5 separate regions of the Homo sapiens genome follow, and regions 2, 3, 4 and 5 are each linked to region 1. The links are contacts of gene promoters, found by promoter capture Hi-C in blood cells and fetal thymus (Javierre and others, 2016). All regions are on one chromosome and are shown on one strand. Each heading gives the region's core, a stretch centred on a gene start or on the middle of the fragment in contact. The rest is flanking DNA. Distances are from core to core; before and after follow the strand shown.

Evidence for each region. Contacts are between HindIII fragments. The CHiCAGO score rates a contact against its expected background, and 5 or more counts as called.
Region 2: a fragment that was not itself captured here is called in contact with the fragment with the promoter of TGFBRAP1 in region 1 in 2 of 17 cell types (naive CD8 T cells and total CD4 T cells); the score reaches 6.8 in naive CD8 T cells.
Region 3: a contact is called between a fragment that was not itself captured here and the fragment with the promoter of TGFBRAP1 in region 1, in 8 of 17 cell types (activated CD4 T cells, naive CD8 T cells, naive CD4 T cells and 5 more). The highest score is 14.2, in activated CD4 T cells.
Region 4: a contact is called between a fragment that was not itself captured here and the fragment with the promoter of TGFBRAP1 in region 1, in 5 of 17 cell types (total CD4 T cells, naive CD8 T cells, non-activated CD4 T cells and 2 more). The highest score is 9.1, in total CD4 T cells.
Region 5: a contact is called between a fragment that was not itself captured here and the fragment with the promoter of TGFBRAP1 in region 1, in 4 of 17 cell types (total CD4 T cells, non-activated CD4 T cells, naive B cells and 1 more). The highest score is 7.3, in total CD4 T cells.

The regions. Positions count from the first base shown.
Region 1 is chr2:105,328,246-105,331,640 of GRCh38, forward strand. It overlaps TGFBRAP1 (transforming growth factor beta receptor associated protein 1), which reads right to left and starts at 1,490. Exons shown (of 12, transcript NM_004257.6): 1 at 1,380-1,490. C2orf49-DT (C2orf49 divergent transcript) reads right to left here. Exons shown (of 2, transcript NR_187479.1): 2 at 3,284-3,395. RefSeq lists a silencer at 1,375-1,804. The HindIII fragment of the contact is 18,854 bases long and covers 1-3,395 here.
Region 2 is chr2:106,598,760-106,602,154 of GRCh38, forward strand. No RefSeq gene overlaps it. Among named protein-coding and RNA genes, the nearest start is that of CD8B2, 110 kb to the left of the region's middle. The HindIII fragment of the contact is 1,333 bases long and covers 914-2,246 here.
Region 3 is chr2:106,578,098-106,581,492 of GRCh38, forward strand. No RefSeq gene overlaps it. Among named protein-coding and RNA genes, the nearest start is that of CD8B2, 92 kb to the left of the region's middle. The HindIII fragment of the contact is 1,496 bases long and covers 1,096-2,591 here.
Region 4 is chr2:106,553,274-106,556,668 of GRCh38, forward strand. No RefSeq gene overlaps it. Among named protein-coding and RNA genes, the nearest start is that of CD8B2, 68 kb to the left of the region's middle. The HindIII fragment of the contact is 2,674 bases long and covers 417-3,090 here.
Region 5 is chr2:106,529,269-106,532,663 of GRCh38, forward strand. It overlaps a transcript of CD8B2 not described here. Among named protein-coding and RNA genes, the nearest start is that of CD8B2, 44 kb to the left of the region's middle. The HindIII fragment of the contact is 2,800 bases long and covers 417-3,216 here.

The sequences.
Region 1 (3,395 bases), core at 240-2,739:
CACCACAGAGCATCACTCCCATTTCATAGATGACCTGGGGCAGGCTAGTTATGGACAGGTTCCAGCAGATTCCAGCCAGTAGACTTTCTAGTACTCCAGGCAGCGTTTTGCTACACATCACAGAAGCAGCTGCAATGACTGTTGAGGCTGCTCGGCTGGCAGAAATGGAAGGAAAAAGAAAAGGAAGCAGCTGACCAAATGTTCCTTCTGACTGACCATGGAACTGCGAGCTCTCAGTTGTCTGCCAGCTTCCGGCTGACCAACAGAGAGAAGCATGTCCACCATGAGAGAGTAGCAGCCACCACACAGTCCCTCTACATTCGTTCATCCTGACTCCAACCAAGCCAACACACACAACGCAGTAGGATCTTCCCTGCACACCTTCTCAGTGCCTTAACTTGCCACCACAATCACACCCGCAGCTGCCTTCCTTCCTGATAGACAAGGTGCTTGCCCATGAGCACTTCATCAGTGATTAAACTCTGCTCAGACATGTTTTGACCACAGCTGCGCGTGCAGTCCACGTGCAGTAAGGCCTGCTGTGTGATCTGTGAGCCCCCATTTTTAGCAGCCAGGTAGGAGGCTTCCTGAGGGTCACTCAACAGTCCTTGGGTAGAAGCCACGGCAGGTGCAGACAACCGGACAGCTTCCGTGTTTAAGGATATCAACACTTAACACAGGGAGGCAGGCGGACTAACTTGCACCTGCACCTCCAGAAGGCAATGGAAAGAAAACAATTCCACAGGGATGACAGCTTCCAGCCCTTGACCTGGTGCTAAAAACAGGGGCCAGGAAGCCCAGCACAGCACTTTTCCCTACTCCCCAACACACCCCTGCCTACTCTCCAGATCAGGACAATTCAGGCCTGAGTGTGACCCGAATTTGAGCTCTCAAATCCAAAGAGCTCCCAGAAACCTCAATCACAGCGCCAAAACCATTCCATACCAGGGATGGAGGTGCAAGTCCTTCCTGGCCCTTCTCCCCGGAAAACCCAAATCAAGGACGAGGTCTCTCAGGTCTTCCCTTGCCCTAAACACACACGCACTCCTCACACACAACATACACACTTGACCCCACACCCGTGCACACTTCATCCCACACACACGTGAACACTTATTTGCTCACCCCAGCAGGCTAGCCGGCCCCCACAAGGGACAGCTACCAAGTCGCACACCCGCACACCTGCCCCCAAGTGTATAGCCACTTGCTCCCCCCACCCCGCGTTCCAGCCCCCACTACACCTGCCCCAGCGCACACGCACGGGCTCGCCCTCCACCCCGCCCCGCCGCCTACCCCCCACTCCTGCTCCCCGCCCTCCTGCCCCACGCGCCCCGCGCCCTGAGCCCCGCACCCCGCGCCCCGCCGCCCTCCTCACTCACCGGCGCCGGCGCCCGCCGTCCCGCGCCGCCCCGCGGCCTGGGGCCCCGCCGCCCCGCTCCGGCCCGCGGCTCCTGGGCTGGCCCGACCCCGCAGCCGCCGCTTCCCGTCACGTGGGGCGGCCGCCAGGCGCTGGCGGAGGGCGGGAGCGCAGCCGTCTCCGCGCCGCCCGCCGGCCCGCGGGCCCTGCCGCCTGGCTCCGAGCACAGGCCGAGACGGGCCCTGCTCCGGGCCTCGGCGTCCCCCTCCGTGCACCGGGGCCACGACACGGCCCGCCTCGCGGGGCGGCCAGCGGGCGGAAGGTGTTCATTCGGGGGGCGCTGAGGCCGCCGGCCCCGGGCGAGAGCGTGGTCCGCGCCAGCTGTGCGAGCCCGCGGGGCTGAGGTCTCTTCTCCGCCCCCGCCGCTGCGGGGAGCTTCAGGGAAGCCGGGCTTTGCCTGGCTCGCTCGCCACCCAGTTTCTGTCACCTACACAGGAGGAGGGCGCCCGGGAAATACCTGCTGCGTGAATGAATAAATGAATGAAATGCTTGGGCCCTGGGAAATGCTTGGGCCCGCGGCCGCCTGACCACGCGGGCTGGAGGATCGGACGTACCGCCGGTGCCCCACCAGGAGACGAAGGCATGGTTGGGATGCGCAGCCCTCCCACGAGGCCCATGGCGCCCCAGGGCCCTAGGGATTGACCGGGACCCCCGACTGGCAGAGTCCACCTGCTTGATACACTTATTTGAGAAGGGAGGCCTGGGACTATCTTACTCCTTTTAGGAAAACCCAACTGTAGCTGCTATTCCTTTGGTTCAGGCCGCAAGGAAGAATTGTAGGTTACCATGAATCCATGAACCCCTCTTTAGTATACAAAGTCCACTTTCATGACGGAAGAATTGGAAAGCTCCCTCCAGAGTTGTCAGTACTCAATTATTAGCATATAAAAAGTCAAATTTTCCCAGGGATTTTCAGACTTTAGAACCTGCTAGTGACCTGTGGCCTCAGCTTTCTTCCAGCCACTCTGAGTATTGTAAAACAAAGATATTATCCCAACCCTGAAGGCAGATACCAGATTGTACGCCATGGTCTTCTGTTTCAAAGGGATAAAAAAAGAAAGAAAAGAAACTGGCCAAAAAAAAAAAAAAAAAAAAAAAACCCAACAATCTTCCTGTGACTTGCCCTCTACCCCTACCCTAGTGTGACTCATGGCCACATAAATGCCCCATCCCCAGTGGTGCTTCAGCTGTGACCCAGTGGAACCAGTGTCACCGGCTCAGCCTCCAGGTAGGGGACTGGCTTCCCAGGAGTGTAAAGCTCTGACCAGCAATTGAGCTTCAAGGGCAAGCAGCAGTGAATGGACCTTCAAGTCTAAGGTGGCCAACAGCTAGTGGAGCCAGGGATTGGGAAGGTACAAGAGCAAATCCAGTCTCTTCATTTTACCCAGGCTCACAGAGACTATGTGACTTGTCATCAACTAATCACTGGCTCAGGTGGTCCTAGAATTCACCCTTGTGCTTTTGTATCTTAGTCCTCTACCAGATCACATCACAGAGAGCTGCACAAGACTAGTTACAGAGGTGATATCTACTGACTGCCAGACAGTGACTTCAGAAACTGCTAGTGACTGAGCAATGAAGTAGACGCTATTAATTTACTTAATAGCGTCAAAGAATAAATTTAATTCTTTGAGGCAAAGAAAGGTGAATGACTTCCTGTGTTAATTCACTTAGGAAAATATAAATAAAAAAATTTAAAAAGGTGACTTGTCCCAAACCCCATGCTAGTAAGAAAGAGCAACAATAAGAATCCAGAATTCAGCAACAGTAATTCTTTTTATATAAAGTTGTTTTGAATGAATAGTTTATGAACAATCTTTGTGTTCTACTTTAGATGATCCAGGAGTGAAAATGTATAACAAGAGATAATTCAGATATATTTATTTTATGAAAGGATTTATTACAGGATTCTTACAATGGCAAGCTCCATATTATTCCATCTAGAAACATCTGTTCCTTCTGAAACTTGATGAGAAGT
Region 2 (3,395 bases), core at 330-2,829, 1.3 Mb after region 1:
AACTATAAATTCAGTTTCTTTTTTTTTAATTATTAGTATTTTTTGAGACGGAATCTTGCACTGTCTCCCAGGCTGGAGCGCAGTGGCGCAATCTAGGCTTACTGCCAGCTCCACCTCCCAGGTTCATGCCATTCTCCTGCCTCAGCCTCCCAAGTAGCTGGGACTACAGGCACCCACCACCATGCCTGGCTAATTTTTGTATTTTTAGTAGAGACAGGGTTTCACTGTGTTAGCCAGGGTGGTCTTGATCTCCTGACCTCGTGATCTGCCTGCCTTGGCCTCCCAAAGTGCTGGGATTACAGGTGTGAGCCACCGCACCTGGCCAGTTTGTTTAAAAGATACGTAAGTGTTCAAGTTATTTCTGAGCTAGATTTGATAGTTTTTATCTTTCAAGGAATTTGTCAAATTTATTGACATAGGATTTCGTAATATTCTTTTTATTCTTTTCTAACAGCTTGAGATAGAATTTGTATACCATACAATTCAAGTAAAGCATACAATTTAATGGTTTTTAGTATATTCGCGGACATATACAACCATCACCTCAGTCAATTTTAAAACATTTTCATCACCTCAAAGGGAAACCCCATGACCTTTAGTTATCACCACCCTATACTCCCCATCTTAGCCCTGAGCAACACCAACTCCTTTTTGTCTCCTTACTTGGGACTTCTACATGAATGGAATCATATAGTATGTCATCTTTTACAACCAACTTCTCTCACTTAGCATATCATTTTCAAGATTCATAAGTATTGTAGCCTACATCAGTAGTTTACTTATTTTTTTTGACCAAATCATATTTCATTGTATGGATATACCACATTTTGTTTATCTGTTCGCCTGTTGATGGGCACAGCTTGTTTTCACCTTTTGTCTATTTCAGTAGTATTGTTACAAATATTCATGTACAAGCTTTTGTGTGGACATATGCTATTAATTCTTTCTTTGGATATATGACTGGGAGTGAAATTGCTGAGTCATATGGTGACTTTTTACTTAATCTTTTGATAAACTGCTAGATTGTTTTCCAAAGCAACTTTGCGATTTTACGTTCTCACTAGCAGTGCTGAGGGCTCCAATTTTCCCATAATCTCACTAACATTTGTAATTATCTGACTTCTTTATTGTAGCCATCCTAGTGCTAGTTGAAGTGATACCTTACTGTGGTTTTGACTTGCGTTTCCATGATGACTAATGATGTTGAACATCTTTTTATATGCTTATTGGCTATTTGTGCATCTTCCTTGAAGAAATGTATATCCAGGTCCTTTGCCCATTTTAAATCTGTTTTTTTCTTTTTATTATAGATTTTTAAAAGTATTTATATGAGTATATCTTAGATTATTTAATAATATTTTTATTGTTGAGTTGTTCTTTTGAATCCTGTATATACTCCAGATACAATTCCCTGATCAGATATATGGTTTGGAAATATTTTCTCTCATTTTGTGAATTGTCTTTTTATTTTTTTGATGGTATCCTTTCAGGTAATAAGTTTTCCATTTTGATGAAGTCCAATTTATCTATTTTATATTTTGTTGCCTGTGCTTGTAGAGTCATATCCAAAAAATTATTGCCAAATTCAATGTCATGAAGATTTTTCCCTATTTTCTTTTAAGAGTTTTATAGGTTTGGCTCTTACATTTAGGTCTTTGAGCCATTTTAAGTTACGTTTTGCATATTATATAAAGTAAATCTCCAAGTTTGTTCTGCAGGTGGCTATACAAATGACTCAGTGCATTTGTTGAAAAGACTATTGCTTCCCAATTGAATGGCCTTGGCACCCTCATCAAAAATCGGTTAACCATAGGTGTATGGGTTTATTCTAGACTCTGAATTCTATTTCACTGATCTACATGTCTATTATCATGCTAATACTACACTGTCTTGATTACTGTTGCTTTATTCTAAGTTTTGGAATTGAGAAGTATACATTGTTCTATTTTGTTCTTCTTTTGCAAGAGTGTTTTTGCCATTCTGGGACCCACCCATGAAATTCCACATGAATTTTAACACTGGCTTGTTAATTTCTATAAAGAAGCTCCCTAGGACTCTAATAGTTATTGCCTTGAGTCTGTAGATCAATTTGGGAAGTACTGGCATCAGTGTTAGTCCATTTTTATGTCACTATAAAGCTATATCTGAGACTAGGTAATTTATAAAGATAAAAGTTTTAATTTGCTAATGGTTCTGCAGGATGTACAAGCATGACAACATCTTGGCTTCTGGTGAGGACCTAAGGAAGCTTACCATCATGGTGAAAGGTGAAGCAGGGGCAGGTAGGTCACATAATGAGAGTAGGAATGAGAGAGAGAGAGAGGAGAGAGAGAGGTGAGGTGCCACACTGTTTTAAATAACCAGTGCTCCCATGAACTCAGAGTGATAATTCCTTGTGATCACAAGGACCACACCAAATATTCATGAGGGATCCACTCCTGTGACCCAAGCACCTCCCACCAGGCCCCACCTCCAACACTGGAGATTACGTTTAAATATGAGATTTGGAGGGGACAAACATCCAAAGTATATCATTCCACCCTGCTCCTGCCAAATCTCGTGTTCTTCTCACAATGCAAAATATAATCATCCATTCTCAATAGTTCCCCAAAGTCTTAATTCGTTTCAGTTTTAATTTGAAAGTCCTAATTCCCAAGTCTCATCTGGAGATTTTTTTTTTTTTCCCCCACTAAGAGCCTATAAAACTGAAACAAGTTATGTTCTTCCAAGAGACAGTGCAGGTACCAGCATTGGGTAAACATTCCTGTTCCAAAAGGGAGAAATTCACCTAAAGAAAGGGGCTATAAGTCCCATGCAAGTTGGAAACCCAGCAGGGCATTTATTAAATCTTAAAGCTACAAAATAATCTCCTTTGACTTCACATCCCACATCCAGAGCACAGTAGTGTCAGAAGTGGGCTCCCAAGGCCTTGGGCAGCCCTGCCCCTGAGGCTTTGCAGGGTCAGCCCCTGTGGTTGTTCTCACCGGCTGGTGTTGAGTGCCTTGGCTTTTCCAGGTGCAAGCTGTTGGTGGATCTCTATTCTGGGGTTTGGAAGATAGTGGCCCTCTTCTCACAGCTACACTAGGCAGTGCCCCAGTGGGGACTCTGTGTGGGGACTCCAACCCCACATTTCCCCTCATCACTGCCTTACTAGAGGCTCTCTGTGGGAGCTTCCCCTATGGCTGGCTTTTGCCTGGGCACCCAGGATTTCCCATACCTCCTCTGAAATCTAGGGGGAAGCTGCCAAGCTTCTTTCATGCTTATATTCTGTGCAACTATAGGCTTAACACCATGTGGAAGCCACCAAGGCTTATGACTTGTGCCCTTCAGAACAGAGACACAAGCTGTACTGGAGGCCCTTTGAGCCTCAGCTGTAGCTAGAGCCGCTGGGATTC
Region 3 (3,395 bases), core at 594-3,093, 1.3 Mb after region 1:
CCAGCCTGCCTGATATGCCTCACAGGTCCCATGTCTCTCTCCCACCTTCGTGCCACTTATCCTCTGGACATACAATGGGCATACACCAAGCATCTTGCTTCACTCCACATCGTAGTTACGGTGACTTTCTCAGGTAAAAAGCTGGCCACTCTCGCACATATTCTGTGGCCGCTCAGCGCCAGGAGCATATCAACCAGGCTCGTCCCAGGGCACACGGGATTGACTTTCCCAATCTCCTGCCCACCTGCTTGGCCTCATCTTTACTACTCCTGCCCTCCTCTTTACCCCCCAGCAGAATGGAAGTCTGATTTGAAGATCGCGATTTCATTCCTATGTCACTTTGCACGTGCATTTCCCTTTCTGAAACAACTTCCCTGTTTGACAGCAAAAGCCAAGACTTTTTCTCTTTGTTTTCTCAGCATCCAGCAGAGTGTTTAATGCATATATGATGCTTTGCTAAATATTTTGAAAAGATAGATAGGAACGCTTCAGAAAACATCATGTTTATTTAGACATATGTCTTTGTTGTCTTGCCTCGCCAATCAGCTACCAACTACAGACGGTTACAGTGGTTCAATTTAGGCTTTTTTGACTTTATGATGGTGCAAAAGCAATATGCATTTAGTAAAAATAGTACTTCAAATTTGTAATTTCCATCTTTTCTGGGGCTAGGGATATGTGGAACAATACTCAGAATGGTGGGCAGGGCAATGAGCCAGATGTCCCAGTCAGCTATATGATCATGAGGGCAAATAGCTGATAATGTACAGGGTGCTATGATTTCAGATGATGTTACCTCACTGTAGGCTAATGTACGTGTTCTGAGCATGTTTAAGGTGGGCTAGGCTAAGCTATGATATTCTATAGGTTAGGTGTGTTAAATGCATTTTTGACTTGGATAGTTTCAACTTAACCATGGGTTTATCGGGATGTAACCCCATTGTGTAAGTTGGGTTGCATCTGTACTTTGAAAGTAACATTCTTCATCATGCACATAAAAACTCACTCCACTTCCAGTTCCTTTAATTCCTTAGATGACTGTGTCATTTGGAAATGAGGACAAAGTAGTAGTCATCTATGAGACCCATTGTTGGAAGCTTTCTAATTTTCTTATGAGAGTATCCATCACTTGAAAAGCTGAAATAGTATAGCATTTTTTATGGGCAATGTATGAGAAACTGCTATAATTGGCTCTAGATTTATAGCAAATAAGACAATAAATACAGCAAACTGGATTGGTTTTTAAGGCAGCAGCCATTGTGAAACAAAAAAATGAGATTGATATTTTCAATCTCAAAATGACTATGTTGTAAACTGTTTAGAGATCATCTATTATCAGACTAAAAGTCAAACAATCTGGAATTTCTCTTAGATTTTCAAAGATGATTGGGAGATGGACTCAGATGGCACCATGTGGCAAGAATTCATAAGATTACACACGCTGTTTGTAAATTGACCTTTAAATATTAGGCTTGACGGAGAGACAAGTGTATGGGCAGATTTGAATTCAGATAAAGAAAGAATGTGAAAGTATCTGTGTAAACTGTAAACTAAGTTATCGATACAGTGTAGGTTTTTTTCTGCACATAAACACGATGTACATGATTTCAAGCTAGCTCAAATTTATGAAAACTCCCAGACAGCATGAGAAATAAGAAGGAAGCAAGAGAGCAACACTTCCCCTTGCTTGCTGCCCTGTGGGTCATTGCTCGCTAACGTCCAAGGTCAAAGCCCTTGGCCGAGGGGCACTGCTGGCAGCCTCTGGGCTGGCTGACAGAAAAATACACTACCACTTTTCATCTTGGTGAGTGGTCTGGCGACCTAGGGTCAAAACCGCAGCTAAAGAGATCTGCTGACAAAAAGGCAGAGTGGAAATTATCTAGATGAATCCAACCAGCTGTTAGAAAAACAGAACAACCCTGCTCTGAAGGTGACAGCAGAGGCCAGCCAGGCGTCTGTCTTTTTCCTCGGACTGGGGCCAGCTTTAAATGCAGCCAAATCAATCCATTGTACAACGGTGAACCAGCCAGTCCATGGTGCCTCTGGTTATCTCTAGGATCATCTCGTATGTTGGTAGCTGGGGAGATTGTGGCACCCCATAATAACCAGGCAGCCTGCTCTCTTACACAGGTGCATAGTGGATGCTGCTGCTCAGAGGCTTTCGGGAGTGGCCCTTCCAGAACCCTCTGAAGGTCTATACTCCAGGCATCTGAGGTTCCCCACCAAGGGTTTTGTTTGCTCTGTTTCATGCTTGTAACATGCCAGAAGTGCAGGGCAGTTGACACCACCAGGAGCAGCCACTAAAGCAGGTAACAAGAGCCGGTGTGCCCAGCATCCTTGCCTTCAGGAGAGGCAGCCCTGGGGTGTGTCCACACTGTCCAGGAGACCCAGCCGGTTGGGGCCCCAGCTGCCTACAGAGGAAACCACTCATGAGCATGCCTTATATCCCTCTCCTCCCCTCCCCTCCCCTCCCGTCCCCTTCTTTTCCCCTTGTTGAAAGACTTTCACTCATAAATCCACAAATCAGAAAAAATTCTTCGTTGGGCCATACGTCCATCTTTTTTCTTTAAAATACTGTTTCTGCAATATTAAGCTTAATTACTCCTATCCGGGTTATACTTAATGCTAAATTGTCGTAATCTTAGTGCCGAGTCCCCCCAAGCAACTGCAGTTTTGCTAGAAGCTCTTTAGCTCAGCTCCTCTGAGGGCTCTGCCGTCTGTCCCTCAGCTTCCATGTCCTGTGGCTCCCCGGATGGCAGTGGCTTCCTCAGCCCCTGCAACGTTACCTTTTATGCTTGTGGATTCTAATGTCTACCAAGCAATCCTCACTTAGACTCAAGGAAGAAAACTGGGTGAATACCCCAATCTCGCTGCAAGGCCCACACCTCACAGGTGATGACAGGGGCAGGAAGGAAGCCACACTGAGTGGAGGGTGCTGCCGTGAGCCTGCCCACCGCGTCCTGGTTTAGTCGCTAAACTTACATTTCCCTGATCTTGTCAGAAGTTCTCTCTAGGGAGGAAATGTTTTGGATATTCACCTCATTTTGATGGTGAGCGGCTTGAAGCAGTTTGGAAGTTGCTGTCAGTACCGAAGCCCTTCAGATCTTCACGCTAATTTCCGTACAAAGAACTGCTAGGGAAATTCCTACTCTGTTTCTCATCTTTATTGAAGCTTAAACTCAAATCCTTGAGCCTGTGAAACATGTCCTTTTCCTCTATAGACGCTTCATTTTCACAACCCTGCACGAAAACTGCTTAGAAGCATTCCTTTCCATCTGTCACCCTCCTTCACTTGGGTTTCTTCATTCCTAGTAGGGTTTCTTCAATTACCTTCTGCAGAATAGCACTAGGTCCAGTCCCCAGGGATCGGCAACGTATAAGCCCACAGCCAGCAC
Region 4 (3,395 bases), core at 504-3,003, 1.2 Mb after region 1:
GATGAAGCATGACATCCTAGGCAGAATCTCAGGGTAGCATGAACGGCTGTGCTTCTTTATTTTTTCTTCTAAAGGGTTAAACATTTTCCAAGTTGGCTGCCATCAGCATGGGCTGGTTTATGCTGTGACTTTCTTTTTCTAGGAAGATTAATGCCAGAGCCATTTATCTGTGACGATACCTTTGAAGAGAAACAAATGAAAAAGTGGAATTTCAGTCCAATCTAGTCTAACGAATTCAATCTGTTGCAGAAATAACATGGGGAAGCAAGGGAATGAACACTTGCTGGGCAGACGCATCAATCATCTGAATCGTGCCACTGAGCCGGACTATAACTATAGCAAGAACGAATCTAACTATAGTCTTATTAGGTGAAAGACTGGATTCTATTTATCTTTTTATGTAGAGCCAACTCAAAAGCTTGCAAGACTCAAGCACCTTTTCTGTTCTCTCTCGGGCTTTGAAAAACTGTTCCCATTATCAATTCAGTATACCCTTAAGGCAAATTTGTCCAACCCGTGACCGTTTGGCCCAGGATGGCTTTGAATGCAGCCCAACACAAACTCGTAATTTTTCTTAAAGCATTACGAGAGTTTTTTGCGACATTTTTAAGCTCATCAGCTATCATTAGTGTTAGTGTATTTTACGTGCGGCCCAAGACAATTCTTCTTCTTCCAGTGTGGCCAAAGGAAGCCAAAAGATTGGATACCCCTGCTTTAAGGTAAGAATTTGGGTTGCCAGTTGGTTGGTACGATTATTCAACTGGCATCCATAATGGTTTCTGGAACACAGAAGATGCACAATGTATTAGCTCCATTCTTCCTTCCCTTGCTTTCTTGCCCTCTGAGGCCAGAAATCCCAAGAGGTAGTGGCAGTCACACCTGGACCAGAGCTCTGAAGAGATGGGTTCTCACCTGAGCTCTGGCTCTCACTGCAGGAATGATCTTATGCAAGGTGTCTTTCCCCCATTCTTTTGTGCAATTGGGATCTGCATAAGTCAGTGGTTCTCAAAGGGGGCAATTTTGTCCTTCTGGGGAAAATGGCTGGAGATATTTTCAGTGTTCACAACTGTATGCGGGGAGAGTGTCCTACTGACATTTAATGAGCAGAGACCAGGGAAATTGCTGAACATCCTACAGGGCACAAGACAGCCCTACAACGGAGGGCTCTCCAGCCCCCAGTGTCAATAGTGCTGAGGAACCCTGGTGTGACAGTAAACGATCACCACTGGAATCATTTACAGTCATGCACTGACTAATGACGTGGATACATTCTCAGAAATGCAATTTTGTCATTCTGTGGACATCACAGAGTGAACTTACAAAGACCTAGATGGTATTGTCTACTACACACCTCAGCTGTACAGGCTGTACTCTGTCCTATTGCTCCGAGGCACAAACGTTTACAGCATGTGACCGTACTGAGTACTATAGGCAATTATAACACAATGGTAAGAATTTGTGTATTTAAACCTAACTAAGCCTAGAAAAGGTACAGTAAAAATATGACATTATAATCTTATTTGACCATGGTCCTATATGCAGTTCATTGTTACGTGGCACATTACTATACTACAAAGGGAAGGTGTGGATTCCTACTATGTAGCAGGTGCTGTACTAGATATTTAAATCTTACTTGATTTGATTTTCACAAAACTCTGCAAGTGTGGATATTAGTGTTCCCATTTTATAGATGAGGCACCTGAAGCTCAGAGAGACTAAGCAGTAGTCATATCACTAGCATGAGTTGCAGTCGAACTTGGAGCTGTTTTCATTAATTTGATGATAAAGACTTTGAAGCATGCATGTGTTTGGTGGTGCTTATAGAATCATAGACCTCCAGAACCAGAAGGTATCTTGAAAGTAGTTGGTTAGTCAGATGTCCTCGTTTTACAGATGGAGAAACTGAAGCAAAGAGGTTTACTCTATAACAGAGCAAGAGCCAGAGTCTGGCCTGGAGCCCATGGCTCAGCTAGGAGAGGGACCAAGCCTTCTAACCAGTGCTCTCTGGGGTGTGTCTGCCTGTAAGAAGACATGGAGTGGGAACACTTGTTTCTCCTAGCAGGCCTGAATTGCCTCTTTATTGCTAGCCAGGCAAATTCCCACTGTAACAGGCCATGGCTGGGTTTCTGGAGGTGGTGGACAGGTTTTCACTTTGGAGCCCTCTAAACAGGTAGTCTTGGCTTTGCAGGTGTTCTTGGACAAGGCTCACACATGCTGCAGGAGAGTGCCTCTGCTGGTTCAGATGCTGTCCCTTAGGACACATCCTTGGCTCTTCCCTACCTCTATCCTTTCGCCTGCTTTCTCACTCCCCACCTTGCATCCCTCTCTATGCCCTCCAACTCTGACTTGCAAAATAGACCAAGGAGACAGGTTAGGAAGAACTTCTGGGAGCAACACGGAAAAAAGTACGTTTTTGGAATCTGGGTCACTATCGTAATCTGCTGCAGATAATGAGCAGTGAATGTGTGTTTGATGAGATGGGACTTCTTCCCCTTAGGTCTGAAGGAACTCATTTGGAGAACAGGCATGCAGATGCCCTGAGAGCTCGGTGCCACACGATGGACACACAAATGGAGATATGGCTTCCACATGCTGTGTTCCCACACCTCTCATATTTCAGACGCAGTGCTTTGCCCTTCATCCATTAACTCGCATTCTTTTTCTCTTCTGTCTCCCTCCATTTGGGATGATCAAAATTTTATTTCTGGATGAGCTCCTTTTTGCCCACTCTAAGAGTTAAATACCTTTGCTGACACTGAATTTGGAAACACAGACTTAGGGAAATTTTTCAGAAAGACTGCTTTAAGAGTAATTTTTTTTCCCAACAGACAACACAGAAGTAGAATTTTATTTACTTGCTTTTGCTATTATTAGCCATTTATATCATATCATAACTTATGAATAAGACATTAAGATGAGCATTGTAAACGAATGCTACCAATTGCATAAGAGAGAATCCATTCATTTTTGCTAGCTTGTATTGTTTTCTGTGTTTCCACCATACAATTAGATGTAAAATAGAAATACAATTCTATTGCATTAAAGAGTAATACTTGTTTATATGTTACTATGTGATAGGCATATAATTAAAGCTTAAAAAATTTTTGCTGAATTAAATTGAATGTAATAAGGAACATTTGAAAAACACAGAAAAATAAAATTTTTAAAAATATAAAGTTTTCCATCCCTATTAAATAACCAATATAAACATTTTGGTGTATATCCTTTAACTCTTGTCCCTATGTGTGTATCTGTATCCATATCTCTAACTCTATCTGTAGCTCTATCATCTCTACACGAACACACACACACACACACACACCAACACTTACAAGATTAACAAATGTGGTATCATAGTTTATAAAATGTGTAGTATTATAACATTTATAAATGTT
Region 5 (3,395 bases), core at 567-3,066, 1.2 Mb after region 1:
GAATCTGGGGCTGGCTCTCCAGCCTGGATGGGTTTGAAAGCAGAGAGGGACCAGTTGCCCTTTAGAAGATGGAGCATTGGTTGTTCTTAGTTGTCCTTGGTATCCCCTTAATGAGCATTTCTCATCTGTAACTGATAAGATAGGACCCATTCTCAGACCTATCTCAAGTACCATATGCCCAGAAATGGTAAGTTTCCTCCAGTGTGCAGCCAGCTGTGAGAGAGGATGTCTTTGATGTCCAGATGCCTTCTCTCTCACTCTCCAAGTTAATCTACCACCTGCCCTGGAAATTCTACTTCTTTAATGCTTCTTAAATCCATCCATTTTCCTTTATCTCCATTACAATATTTTTGTCCAAGTCACTACTGTTTTCACCTAGGCTACTAACATGGCCTTCTGGCTGACACTGGATACCAAGCTTGCCACAAGGGACATGTCAGTGGTGCCTTTGAACTGGAAGTTGGGACTGACACCTAGCTCCATGCATCACAGGTGAACAGGCTCAAAAGAAGATTCCCACACTGGCTGGGGTGGGTGATCCTGATCACTGAGGGAGCTCTGTCTTTGCCATCACACAGGGCAAGCAGCGATGAGGTTTCCTGGAACTCAAGGATCCTCAGTGTGCTTTCCAGTACTGCAGGTGTAGCAGTCAAAGTTAGTGAAAAACCATAGCAAAACCACATAAGTGGGACTACGAAGTACTCATACCCTTGAGAATGAAGGATCAGGTCATCCCACCTGATGGAGAAGTTTCACCCGCTGAGAAAGTGAACACAACTGGAATGGGTTGTAGGAACAGAAGGTAGTGGATGCCAGCATGGCTCTGCTGCCGGTATGAGGACTGCAGCAGTTACCTGAAGTTCAGTCCCTTCCTATTGTATAAAGTGCACATTTCAGTATTGTAACTAAGTGGCACTCCTGTGAAGGACGGATCCCAGAACTAGAGGAGATCTTGAGGGCGCAAACCTTGAACAGTCCCAGAAATCGAAGGAGGGCTTTGAAATTCCATAGGCCTTGACAATGAGCTACTTTAGCCAATTTAACTTAAATTTTGAGGAACAGGGAGGGAGGTTTTGCCTAACATTGTGAGAAGCGTGTGAACCAGGAGCAACTCCAGCTTTTTTGTTTTGGAGATGGAGTCTCGCTGTCGCCCAGGCTGGACTGCAGTGGCGCGATCTCGGCTCACTGCAAGCTCCGCCTCCCGGGTTCACGCCATTCTCCCGCCTCAGCCTCCTGAGTAGCTGGGACTACAGGCGCCCGCTACCACGCCAGGCTAATTTTTTTGTATTTTTAGTAGAGATGGGGTTTCACCCTGTTAGCCAGGATGGTCTTGATCTCCTGACCTCGTGATCCACCCAGCTCGGCCTCCCAAAGTGCTTGAATAGGGGCTAGGTAAGATGGGGCTGAGACCTGCTAGGCTGCATTCCCAGATGGTTAAGGCATCTAAGTCACAGGATGAGATGGGAGGTTGGCACAAGACACAGGTCATAAAGACCTTGCTGATAAAACAGGTTGCAGTGAAGAAACAGCTAAATCTCACGAAACCCAAGAAGGCGGTGAGAGTGACCTCTGGTCATCCTCATTGCCACACTCCCACCAGCTCCTTGACAGTTTACAAATGCCATGGCAATGTCAGGAAGGTACCCTAGATGGGCTAAAAAGGGGAGGCATGAATAATCTACCCCTTGTTTAGCATATAATCAAGAAATAACTATAAAAATAGGAAACCAGTAGCCCTCGGGGCTGCACTGTCTATGGAGTAACCATTGTTTATTCCTTTACTTCCTTAATAAACTTGCTTTCACTTTACCCTACTGACTCACCCTAAATTATTTCTTTCGTGAAATCCAAAAACCCTCTCTTGAGGTCTGAATCAGGACCCCTTTCCTGTAACAACATCTAAAGGATCAAGTAGCAGAATTTGCTCTGCTCTTCAGACTAGGTTTTGGGAGTCATCCAGAAAGTGATTTAGCTCATGACACTCAGACATAGTAGATACCGTCCCCCAAATCTGAAGAGATACTCTCAGTGTTGGGTCCCCTTTTTAGTGGTAGTGGGAACTAGGTACACCACTTGCTTTTCCTTTTCCTTTGGGCAATAATCCAATTGCCCCAAATTCTGAAACATCAGACGCTGAAACGGGCAGGTGCCTCTATTTTTGTTGCACTTATTTTCTGTCCTCTATCACACGAGTTCTCGAGTTCTATCCAAGATGTCCTGGAACCTACTATTTCTTGCTCTAAGGGTCCTAGCCAGGATGCTGCCCCTGCAGGGGGCCAGGATGATGTCCTGCAGGCTGAGTCCCTAGGGCCATGTGAGCCTCTCAAGCCTGGTTAGGTCATGGGGTGGGAAATGTATGGGATTCACTATTAGATTGCCCCAGCTACTTTCCCTCTGATGGTCACTGCTGCACCCTGGCTCTTCTCTTCAGTGCGATCCTGAAGCCTCTCCCATGGGCATTCCAGTCCAGTGAGAACAGCCAGCACAGATTCTTTAAAGTGTCCTGCACTTTCTTCCCCAACCTTTTCCTCAAGGTCTACATGAAGGGAACCTCTCTGGGGAGCAGAGTGTGTGTGTGGGTAGAACAAACAAGCTACATCCAGCCCAGCATTCCAGTCTCCCCAGGCCTTTGATTTCCCTCATTTTCGTTATAGCAAGGAATGCATGGCCTTTTGAAGTCATTTGCCGCAGGCCAGCTTTCAGCCTAGGTCTGCATCCGCCATCCCAGCAAAGTAACAGATCTCCAGCCAGCTGTGCATATTGCACACCCAACCGCCCTCTTGATAAATGCAACCATAGCACAGATTCAGCTCAGTCTAACATTTTGTTCCAGCACAGTTAGCTGAGCCCTGTCAAAATCCACTTCCACAAATATTTCCCGGAGTTTGTATGTGTAAAAAGCACATTTCTGTATCTCCTTTGAATCTTTAGTAGAATCCCATTACGACTGGTTGTTGGAGGGGAGGATTCAATGGCCATGACCTTGATAGGCTTTGGAGCTCTGGTTCCTGATTTTTTGGAAGCCAATTGTCCAGTTCTGTAAACTTCAAGGTATTCTCTTTACACATTTTTTTTTCTATTAAAGCGAGCTAGAATCCTAGCAAATACAGATATTGGTGTTACTGGAAAGGAGTCCGGATCCAGACCCCAAGAGAGGACTTTTGGATCTTGCTCAAGAAAGAATTTGGGGCGAGTCCATATAGTAAAGTGAAAGCAAGCTTATTAAGAAAGTAATGGAATAAAAGAATGGCTGCTCCATAGGCAGAGTAGCCCCAAGGGCTGCCAGTTGCCCATTTTTATGGTTATTTCTTGATTATATGCTAAACAAGGGGTGGATTATTCATGAGTTTTCTGCAAAAGGGGTGGGCAATTCCTGGAACTGAGAATTCCTTCCA